Regions from separate parts of the Homo sapiens genome. Here region 2 is linked to region 1. Evidence: promoter capture Hi-C in 16 types of primary human blood cells and fetal thymus (Javierre and others, 2016). All regions are on one chromosome and are shown on one strand. The core of a region is centred on a gene start or on the middle of the fragment in contact, and the rest is flanking DNA. Distances in the headings are between cores, read along the strand shown. Region 1 holds the start of SEC23IP (SEC23 interacting protein). Region 2 overlaps TIAL1 (TIA1 cytotoxic granule associated RNA binding protein like 1).

What was found. Contacts are between HindIII fragments. The CHiCAGO score rates a contact against its expected background, and 5 or more counts as called.
Region 2: a fragment that was not itself captured here is called in contact with the fragment with the promoter of SEC23IP in region 1 in 1 of 17 cell types (total B cells); the score reaches 5.4 in total B cells.

The regions. Positions count from the first base shown.
Region 1 is chr10:119,889,535-119,894,275 of GRCh38, forward strand. It overlaps SEC23IP (SEC23 interacting protein), which reads left to right and starts at 3,196. Exons shown (of 19, transcript NM_007190.4): 1 at 3,196-3,411. The coding sequence starts at 3,249. RefSeq lists enhancers at 1-110, 1,911-2,422, 2,423-2,933, 2,934-3,444. The HindIII fragment of the contact is 6,362 bases long and covers 1,168-4,741 here.
Region 2 is chr10:119,578,195-119,583,747 of GRCh38, forward strand. It overlaps TIAL1 (TIA1 cytotoxic granule associated RNA binding protein like 1), which reads right to left. Exons shown (of 12, transcript NM_003252.4): 3 at 4,265-4,363; 4 at 3,975-4,029; 5 at 3,728-3,815; 6 at 1,741-1,816; 7 at 532-640. Among named protein-coding and RNA genes, the nearest start is that of TIAL1, 16 kb to the right of the region's middle. The HindIII fragment of the contact is 5,652 bases long and covers 1-4,478 here.

The sequences.
Region 1 (4,741 bases), core at 1,946-4,445:
TCTATACCAATTGTAAGTTAATATGGATTGAACAAGGTCTTATTAATACAAAGAATAATTGAAATCCCAAACTTACAAGGTTTTCAACAAAAGTAAAGTTTGCTAAAAGTTAACAGTGTAACATATATTATCCTACTACCACACACTCTCAAAGGATTTCTCAGACAGTTTGCAAGAAATAACAAAATCTATCCTTATTCTACAATTCCAAATAGACTCTTTGGCAGCAGTGACCCTCCAAAACCACCGAGGCCTAGACCTCCTCACTGCTGAGAAAGGAGGACTTTGCACCTTCTTAGGGGAAGAGTGTTGCTTTTACACTAACCAGTCAGGGATAGGATGAGGTGCCGCCTGGTGTTTACAGGAAAAGGCTTCTGAAATCAGACAACGCCTTTCAAACTCTTATATCAACCTCTGGAGTTGGGCGATATGGCATTTCCCCTTTCTAGGTCCTGTGATGGCCATCTTGCTATTATTCACCTTCGGGCCCTGTATTTTTAACCTCCTTGTCAAATTTGTTTCCTCTAGGATTGAGGCCATCAAGCTACAGATGGTCTTACAAATGGAACCCCAATGAGCTCAACTAACAACTTCTACTGAGGACCCCTGCACCAACCCGCTGGCCCTTTGACTGGCATAAAGAGTTCCCCTCTGGAGGACACTACAACTGCAGGGCTCCTTCTTCAACCCATCCAGCAGGAAGTAGCTACAGAGGTCATTGCCCAATTCCCAACAGCTCTTGGGGTGTCCTCTTTAGAGGGGGGATTGAGAGGTGAAGCCAGCTAGACTTCCTGGGTTGAGTAGGGACTTGGAGAACTTTTCTGTCTAGCTAGAGGATTGTAAATGCACCAATCAGTGCTCTGTGTCTAGCTGAAGGACTGTAAATGCACCAATCAGCACTCTGTAAAAACACACCAATCAGTGCTCTGTGTCTAGCTAGAAGATTGTAAATGCACCAATCAGCACTCTGTAAAAATGCACCAATCAACACTCTGTGTCTAGCTAAAGGATTGTAAATGCACCAATCAGCATTCTTTACAATGGACCAATCAGCGCTCTGTAAAATGGACCAAGCAGCAGGATGAGGGCAGTGACAAATAAATAAATAAAAGCTGGCCACCCGAGCCAGCAGCAGCAACCCAGTCAGGTCCCCTTCCACGCTACGGAAGCTTTGTTCTTTCGCTCTTCACAATAAATCTTGCTGCTGCTCACTCTGGGTCTGTGCCACCTTGAAGAGCTGTAACACTCACCACAAAGGTCCGCGGCTTCATTCTTGAAGTCAGTGAGGCCAAGAACCCACCGGAAGGAACCAACTCCGGACACATGACCACTGAGAACTGTCTTCTCAAGGACCTGGGGGTTTGTCTCTTGAATTGCAAGCCTTCAAGGAGGTGGTTCTCATTCTCATTCCCAGTCCCTGTGGCTACCTTGCTCTCTTACACCACTGCTTGTCATGAAGACAGAAAAATTATGTCTCCTCTGGATAAGCATGGATTAACACACCCAGATGGCCTAGTTGCAGGACGAACCAACCCTTCACACTCCTCAGCACCTTTCCCTTAGCACACCACAGCCTCTAAAAAGCCTCCAAATTTTTGTTTCAGCAAAGTTGTGTTCAGTTCATGCTGGACCCAATTCCCTAGCAATAGTTTTCATTAAATAAAATCTAATTTACTGCTTTAACGAGTGTCCCACTTAAAAAATTTTTCTTGACAGTAAGCACATGAAATCGTTATTGAATTAATAAACTTAGGTTCTATATATGTGTAAACAGCTGAGCAGAGTTTCATTATTTTGAGCGTTCTTTTGGTATCTCCTCTCCCAACCTCCAAGAAGCTGAAATATGGCTTAAGTTATATTTTCCTTCAAAATCTCTAACTATGAAAGATGACAATTATGTCCAAGTTATCCACAGTACCTCCTGGATTGAAGTAAGTCAGCTTACTGTGGATATAGAAAGCTATCTAAAATGTCAGATCTCTAATTTCAATGCCCTGGTTTCTTTTTTTTTCTTTTTTTTTTTTTTAAGGAGACAGGGTCTCGCTGCACAGTGAGTGGCAAGATCAGGGTTAATTTGGCCTCAAGCAATATTCCCGCCTCAGCCTCCTGAGTAGCTGGCAATATAGGTGCTATGCCACCAAGCCCGGCTAATTTTTGTATTTTTAGTAGAGACGGGGTTTCACCATGTTGGCCAGGTTGGTCTCAACCTTCTGGGCTCAAGCTATCCTCCCGCTCTGCCTCACAAAGTGCTGGGATTGCAGGCCTGCGCCATGGCGTCTGGTTTGATTTCTCTTTTAAATATTTTTTTTGGCCAGGCGTGGTGGTTCATGCCTATAATCCCAGCAGTTTGGGAGGCCAAGGCGGGCAGATCACGAGGTCAGGAGATTGAGACCATCCTGGCCAACCCGGTGAAACCTCGTCTTTACTAAAAATACAAAAAATTAGCCAGGCGTGGTGGCGGACGCCTGTAGTCCCAGCTACTCGGAGGCTGAGGCAGGAGAATCGCTTGAACCCGGGAGGCGGAGATTGCAATGAGCCCAGACTGCACCGCTGCACTCCAGCCTGGGCGACACAGCAGACTTGTCTCAAAACAAAAAACAAAACCAACCAAAAAAACAAAAAACAAATGCAAAACAAAAAACAACAAAAATAAAACGAAATATTTTTTTCTCCCTATGGATTAAACACTTAAAAAATGTTTTACCACTTCTATTTCTGGGTCAACCACAATGTTCGGTTCCATCCAGAAAGACAAGTGGGTTTTGGAGAGGGTGTTTGGTTCCGCCTAGCATGCGAATTCCCATTCCCGCACAACGCTCTTCCTCCCTTCCTCCTTCCGGTAGCGTCCAGCAGGATTCCGCTGTTCCTCCAAAATCTTTGTCAGGAGAGCCATCCTGACGGTACCTTTAGGAAGCCCATAGATACCCGCCACAACCTGTGACTTTCAGGGTCAATTGCGTCTCAATTCGCACGTCTATCCAGAACCTGCGGGGACCACGTCCCCATCCTCCCGCCCGGCCTCCGCCTCCGAGGGTGTCACGTGCTAGACGCGGGCGTGAAGACAGTGTCGCCATGTTGATATCTGGCGTCGCCGTGTAGGGGAAGGGAGAGGGCGGCTGACTAGCTACCCGTAATTTCGGCTCCTGTGCGCAAGTGCGGAAGTGCGCTGGCCAGGAGCGTGATCGGTTTCCGGTCAGTGGTGTGGTACCGGGTACCCGGAGACGTGTATCGGACGGTGGGCCGCAGCCATGGCCGAGAGAAAACCTAACGGTGGCAGCGGCGGCGCCTCCACTTCCTCATCGGGCACTAACTTACTTTTCTCCTCCTCGGCCACGGAGTTCAGCTTCAATGTGCCCTTCATCCCAGTCACCCAGGCCTCCGCTTCTCCGGCCTCCCTGCTCTTACCGGGAGGTAATAAGGGGAGGGCGGCCCCGTGTGTGGTGGGAGGCGGGCGGGGGACGTGCAATGACAAAGGTCAGACGGGAGTTTTTCCTTCTGCCTCGAGCTACCCTCTGGATAGCTTGCCAGGATCATTACTGGCCAGGTTTGAGTGGGTCGGGGGCTTTGGGATCTTGGAGGTGGCAGGTGATGAGACTTGCTCTTCACGGAAACCCCCTGTTCCGAGTTGTCCAGAGTGCTGGACATTCATTCGTACCCTGGCATTCCGCAAATCTTTGCTGAATACCCGTTGTTGGTACGCCAGGTGCTGGCAGGAAATGCAAATAAATTAAACAGTGGCCCTCTCCTAGGGTACAGTAGTCTGTCTCCCACTAGGAGACTCCTAGGATACGGTAAGATACCTCCTAGGATGGACTGTGCCCCTCTCCTAGGATACGGTACACTGTCTCCTACTAGGAGATTGTTGTGATACAGTACAATATCTTCTAGGTTACAGTAAGATATCTTATAAGATGGACTGTGCCCCTCTTCTAGAAGCCTGTAATATTTGTGAAGTAGACATATACAATGCATTCCTTATCTTTTTTTTTTTTTTTTTTTTTTTGAGACGGAGTCTTGCTCTGTCGCCCAGGCTGGAATGCAGTGGCGCGATCTCGGCTCACTGCAGCCTCCACCTTCCAGGTTCAAGTGATTCTCCTGCCTCAGCCTCCCGAGTAGCTGGGACTACAGGCGTCTGCCACCATGCCTGGCTAATTTTTGTATTTGTAGTAGAGACAGGGTTCCACCATGTTGGCCAGGATGGTCTCAATCTCCTGACCTCAAGTGATCCGCCTGCCCTGGCCTCCCAAAGTGCTGGGATTACAGGTTTAACCCCCCACCCATTCCTCATCTTTCAAGACAATACATCACTTCTTCCAAGAAGCTGTTTCTTGTTCTCTTAGGCCCCCACTCCTATGTGCACTCCTAGCTCTTTTTTCATATTTGTATTATTGTCCAGGGAGATTGCTTTTTGATGATTATGTAGCATTGCCCAGAGCATAGTGTTTAAGAGCACAGACTGTCTGTATTCCAGTCCTTGCCCTGCCAGTAACTTGCTGTGTGACTGTAGGCATTTTACTTTACCTCTCTGTGCTTCAGTTTCTATGTATGTGTAGCCTCACAGAATTGTAATTAGAAATGCTTTAATTTTTGCAAAGCGCTAAGTATAGTGCGTGCCAGACAGTGTGATTTAATGTTTGTGAAATAAACACACCTGCCTCTCCATTTGGACTGCAGTCTTCTTCAGCAGCTATGACCTAATTGCCTTTTTATCTCCAGGATCTTATTTAGGGCCTAGTACATA
Region 2 (5,553 bases), core at 403-2,902, 310 kb before region 1:
AGCCTGGGTGACAGAGCGAGACTCCACCTCAAAAAAAAAAAAAAAAAAAAAAAAAAGATATGCCTCAATGGGAGGAGAAAACATAATTTTTCTTGATGCTATGATTTGACACAGACTTGATCTATAAAATCAGGTGATTCACAGCTCCAAAAATACTTATACCACAGCCCAATTATTTTCAGATAATGAAATATAAAATGAAATAATTAGAGTCTTGCAACACTAATTAAATACTACGTCAGCCTGGACAACGTAACCAGACCCTGTCTCTATAAAAAAATTACAAATTAGCTGGGCATGGTGGCATGTCCCTGTAGTCTCAGTTACTCAGGAGGCTGAGGTGAAAGGATCACTTATACCCAGGAGTTTCAGGCTACAGTGAGCTAAGATCATGCCACCGCACTCCAGCCTGGGCAACAGAGCAAGACCCTGTCTCTTACATAAATAAATTAGAAATTGAGACTAGATGAATACATGATACATGATTTTGTGAAGAATATAATTTTAACACACACAGTGGACATATCTTACTTTCTTGTGTACTTTTAGGTGCAGGTGGTTTACGAGTGGCCCAATTGGTTCGGATTTGACGACCACCCAACCACTGACCGCCCATATGCACAATCGCATTTTCTGCATCCTATGGATAAAAAAGAAAGCACAATCACAAAGAAAAGAGTGATAAATAAGACTCTGTAAGATGAAATAAAATATCGGCGCTGCTGGTTCCATACAAATCAGTAGATGAATTTACTAAATATCCTAAACAAAACGAAACTGAACTATTACCAATTAGAAAACGATTTGAACTTGAGATTCAATCTAAGCAAAAACAGAATACTCTGGCCCTTTATCTTACCACTTCAATAAAATGTAGATGACCTGTAATCCCAGCACTTTGGGAGGCCAAGGCAGGAGGATCACTTGAGATCAGAAGTTTGAGACTAGCCTGGCGAACCCAAGTGAAACCATGTCTCTACCAAAAATATAAAAATGAGCTGGGTGTGGTGGCACATGCTTGTAATCCCAGCTACTCAGGAGGCTGAGGCAGCGCGATCGCTTGAACCCGGGAGGTGGAGGTTGCAGTGGGCTGAGATGGCACCACTGGACTCCAGCCTGGGCAACAGAGCGAGACTCTATCTCAAAAAAACAAAACAAAACAAAACAAAACATTGATTTAAGTTATTGAAACTGCTTTAAAATCAAAGCCCACTTTATTATTTAATGTTACAGTTAATGCAAATGCTTACTTTGGTACCCCTTTTACAAAGAATATATGCAAAAATCAAGATGAATTGCTTAAATTTTTATTTACATAATTTGTTGTAGTCATTCACATCCCAGTTATATAAGAGTATGAATAATAATTTAAAAGGTAGAGTTAAAACTGAGATTTTCATGGTTAAAACTGAATATAATTTACCTAACCTCTAAATTCTCAGATTAGCTCATCTGTCCTAGACTTGGGCTTTACTTCTAAATCCATCTGACCTTTACCAATGTACAAACACAATTTTAATAATCTTCCTTATAGTATAATCATTCTTTTTCTAGCTATTTATTTTCGAGTTTATGAAAGAGGAATGAAATTATACTCTATTATTAAAACATACATAACATTACATAAAAGTTGTGTTTGTAGTTAACATTCAAGTATATTCAAGTTTCAGATTCAATACATTAAGTAACTAATGACTAAATTTAGTATTAAAAAATATAAATTGAGATGGAAGAACGTACCAGTTTGTTATAAAAAGATACAAAACCATAGCCTTTGGATTTTCCAGTTGCCATGTCTTTAACTACCCGGGCATCCCTGTGAAAAGAAGCACAGCTAAATGAGGGAAGTAAGAGCCACCCTCAAAATAAAAACTAAAAGGAACCACACACACTGTATTGTGAGCATTTTTAAAATAAAATTCCAGTTAGCCCTAATTAACTACAACCATTCCTGAACTCTCCCTAATGCTTCTTTACCTGTTAGAAAAAAGCAGTAGGACAAAAACATGTAATAAACATGCAACCTAATCAAATAGCCTGTGCTTTCTAAACTAAATGCTCAAATTTGAAGATTAATAGGAACAACAGTTTCCCTTTCTAATATTCTATTTACTAGTGTCCTCTAAGGTTTACTGATTCTATAAATTACTGTAACAATACTAACTACTTTACCATGCAATCTCTAAATAGTTAAATGTCTTCTGCCTAGTGATACAAAATATATGAAATATTAAAAAATTGAAAAAGAGGAAAAAATAGGAATTAAAAAGGCATACATGGCCTGTTAACAGATTTCTTTATTTTTCTTGGTCAATTCTCTACCATCATTTTGGAGTTTGGGCAGCTGTAAATTTTGAAAAATTGACATTTTCAGAAATTTAAGAAAGGAGAATAAAAAACTAACAACAATGCTAAGCACACCAGTACGAAAACAACAAATTTACACAGAAATTTTAGTGAGTAAGTTAAATGATTGGAAATATAGAACTCCACTGAATATAGAATGTTAAAATGTAAATACTAAAATATGTATATATAAATAATGTATAATAAGAATAAATAGAAATGAGAAAAAAAATCTACAACTGAGTTCCAGTGTGCACAGTTCCTTGCAGTTAGCCTTCAAGATCCTGTCCATTCTTATGAGCAATTCTGCAAAATAACCAGAATGCTATTACTTTTAATTGTGACTTGGACTTAAGAAAAACTGCAGGTCTCAGGTATAAATAAAGATTGAAAAACAGCAACCTGTATTATTTTTATATTGATTTTTAAAATAGTACTACTTACCACATTTAGATTAAAAAGCAAAGCAAATATCAAAACAGAAAGTTAAGAATTACATCTTTTAAAGAAATTAAATCTATAGAACAACAAATTGTATAGAGAAAATATTGTTGTTCTTAGTTGAAACACTTTCCTGTAAAGTAGTACTAAGATGTTTAATTTAAATCTACAGGAAATATACAAAATAAACTGATTTTAATCAGAAAGATAAATTATGATAAACATTTTCTACAATTCATAACCATTTTTAGTTTTCCAATATATTTTTTACCAAGTAACAACAGTAAAATCTGAGCATAAATTTGTTAAAAATCAAACCACATTTGCCTCTTAACTAGTAGAATCAAATATCACTAACAAAAACATCTAATTAATCCCACATTTATGACTCATACATTGAAACATTTTAATAGTATAATAGTACTTTTCACTTATAGCTAAAATATCAAAAACACATTTATCATAATAAAACATGAACATTTCCAATTTAATCACAATATATCCAAGGATTTACCTACTCTCCCCCATTTATAAATTCCTCCTATAAAAGTTATTGAACTCTTACACAGTATAGATCACATTTACTTTTGATTAACTCATTATCCTAAACCATCAAATTTTGAAAACATATGACAAAAAGCTAGACTTTATAAGTTTTACCATTCAAACATCTGCTTCAAAGATAACAAACAGAATCACTTAAATTTTTTTTAACATATTATACACAGGATTAGATGAAAACGAGACCCCAAGACACTGAAATGACATTAACATTTTCAACAACATCCACTACTCAAAACAAACCAAAATAAATAAATGAAAAATAAGAAACAAAACAAAACCATACTAACTAGAGAAAGAAAATCTTAATTCAATTACAAGTTAATCATATACAATTCTGCCTATCATGACTGAGTGTAGTACTGATTATGATACTTACGATATTTTACCAAAGGGGGCAAATGCTGATTTGATATCTTCTGTTGTAATTTCTGGACTCAAATCCCCAACAAACACATGGAAGTGATCTGAAATCAGAGCATTTGGTAATCAAATACTTAAGAAGTCAGCCACTAAAACCTTTTTAAGGCAACTCTAGAGGAGGAAAAAAAAACCTATTTAAGCTGGTAATGCCTCCTGGATAATTTCAGAACTCTTCCACAGTAAAATGCAGCAGGAGTACTTACTGGAAGTATCTTTTTTCTGGCTACTTGGTGTGGTTGCCCAGTTTACTTTGACCTCCTAAAAATAAAGATTATATTTAATAAAATTATTAGGCATGTCATGAGTTACAACACTTACCACTTATTAAATCATTTATCAAGCAGGGTTATTTTTGTAAAAGCACTAAGCTGAATAAAGCAAAACCATCACTCAGCAGCCGAATATCTGCTCAAAAATTTGCCTAGAAAGAATACAAACTAGTTTGACATGCAAATATATGTACTCATAAGGTGCCATCATCCTATTATCTTACCTTTCCCAAAATTTTTCTCCCATTCATAGCAGCTAATGCAGCAGCTGCATCTCTGTGTTCATAAAATTCCACAAAGCAATATGGGTCATTGCTTGTATGCTGCAAAACAGAAAATCCAACAGAAGAGTTGACCCTTCTGCTATCGGGTTGCTGAGAAGAAAATCCAGGAAAAAACATTACTGATAGCTGGGAATATACAAGGTGAGACTGCATAAGCTTATGAAAGCCTAACACTTTTTAAATAAGATTTAAAGCTAAACCTGACTTTGCACCTCAGAATACTGCTGAACTCAAACGGAACTATAAAAGCAGTTGTAGAATCATGAGCATCAGTATTAAATGAAAATAAAGAATTCTGGTGAAGTGTGTTAAATATAAAATAGAAGATTATATTAAACCAAACAAAACCTCAAACTCAGATCTGATGAGGACCACTCCTTACCACTACTTTCCTTCTCCAATATTATTTTTAAATTACGTTCTACTTATGCATCATAATCCTCTATAAGTGGTATCCCAGGATACAGAAATACAGCAAGAACCAACTTCATAAACTACTGATCAAAATTAGGATCAATACTACAAATGATGGAATTCTATGCTGCTACAAAGACTGAATTTTATTGATTTCTTTTCTGGATATGGAAAGAATGAAAATAAAAACAAGAAAACTTAAGCTTTATAACCAGCTACTGAAATGAATTCCCTACCTTCCAAAATAGTCTAATGTACTGAAGATTCTATATACTTTGAATTTGGTCTTCCAAAGATCAGAGAAATAACAGTGGTGATCAAGAAAAGAGGTTCTGAAAATGTATCTGAATAAAATATTCCAAGACAAAGCTATAAGTTTACATCATAAGAACACCATATAAAAAATCTATATTAAATATATTCTGCAACCCTGTGCTTGACAGTAGTTACCTAAAACACATTTATAAAGATGTGAAGAAAGTAGTACTACCTAAGCTATAGCAACATTCTCACCTGACAACCAAACTAGAAATGAATTTCTATGAAACTGCAACCTGTACTGAATAGCTGCACAACTGTACAAATACATATTTTTATGTAAGGCTAAAAACATTCATCATTATTCAATGTAAAATGCCCTATAAGAATAATATTTAAAATGTGGAATTCTAGTTGGACTTACAAGGGATAAATATACCAGATAAAATAAAGATCTTTTCAACCACAACAGTTTTTCATTCCAGGAAAGTTTTAGAAGAAAAATCCAAAATAAGACGTCTAAACAATAGTGGCAAAGGAACCAGAAGGCATTTCCT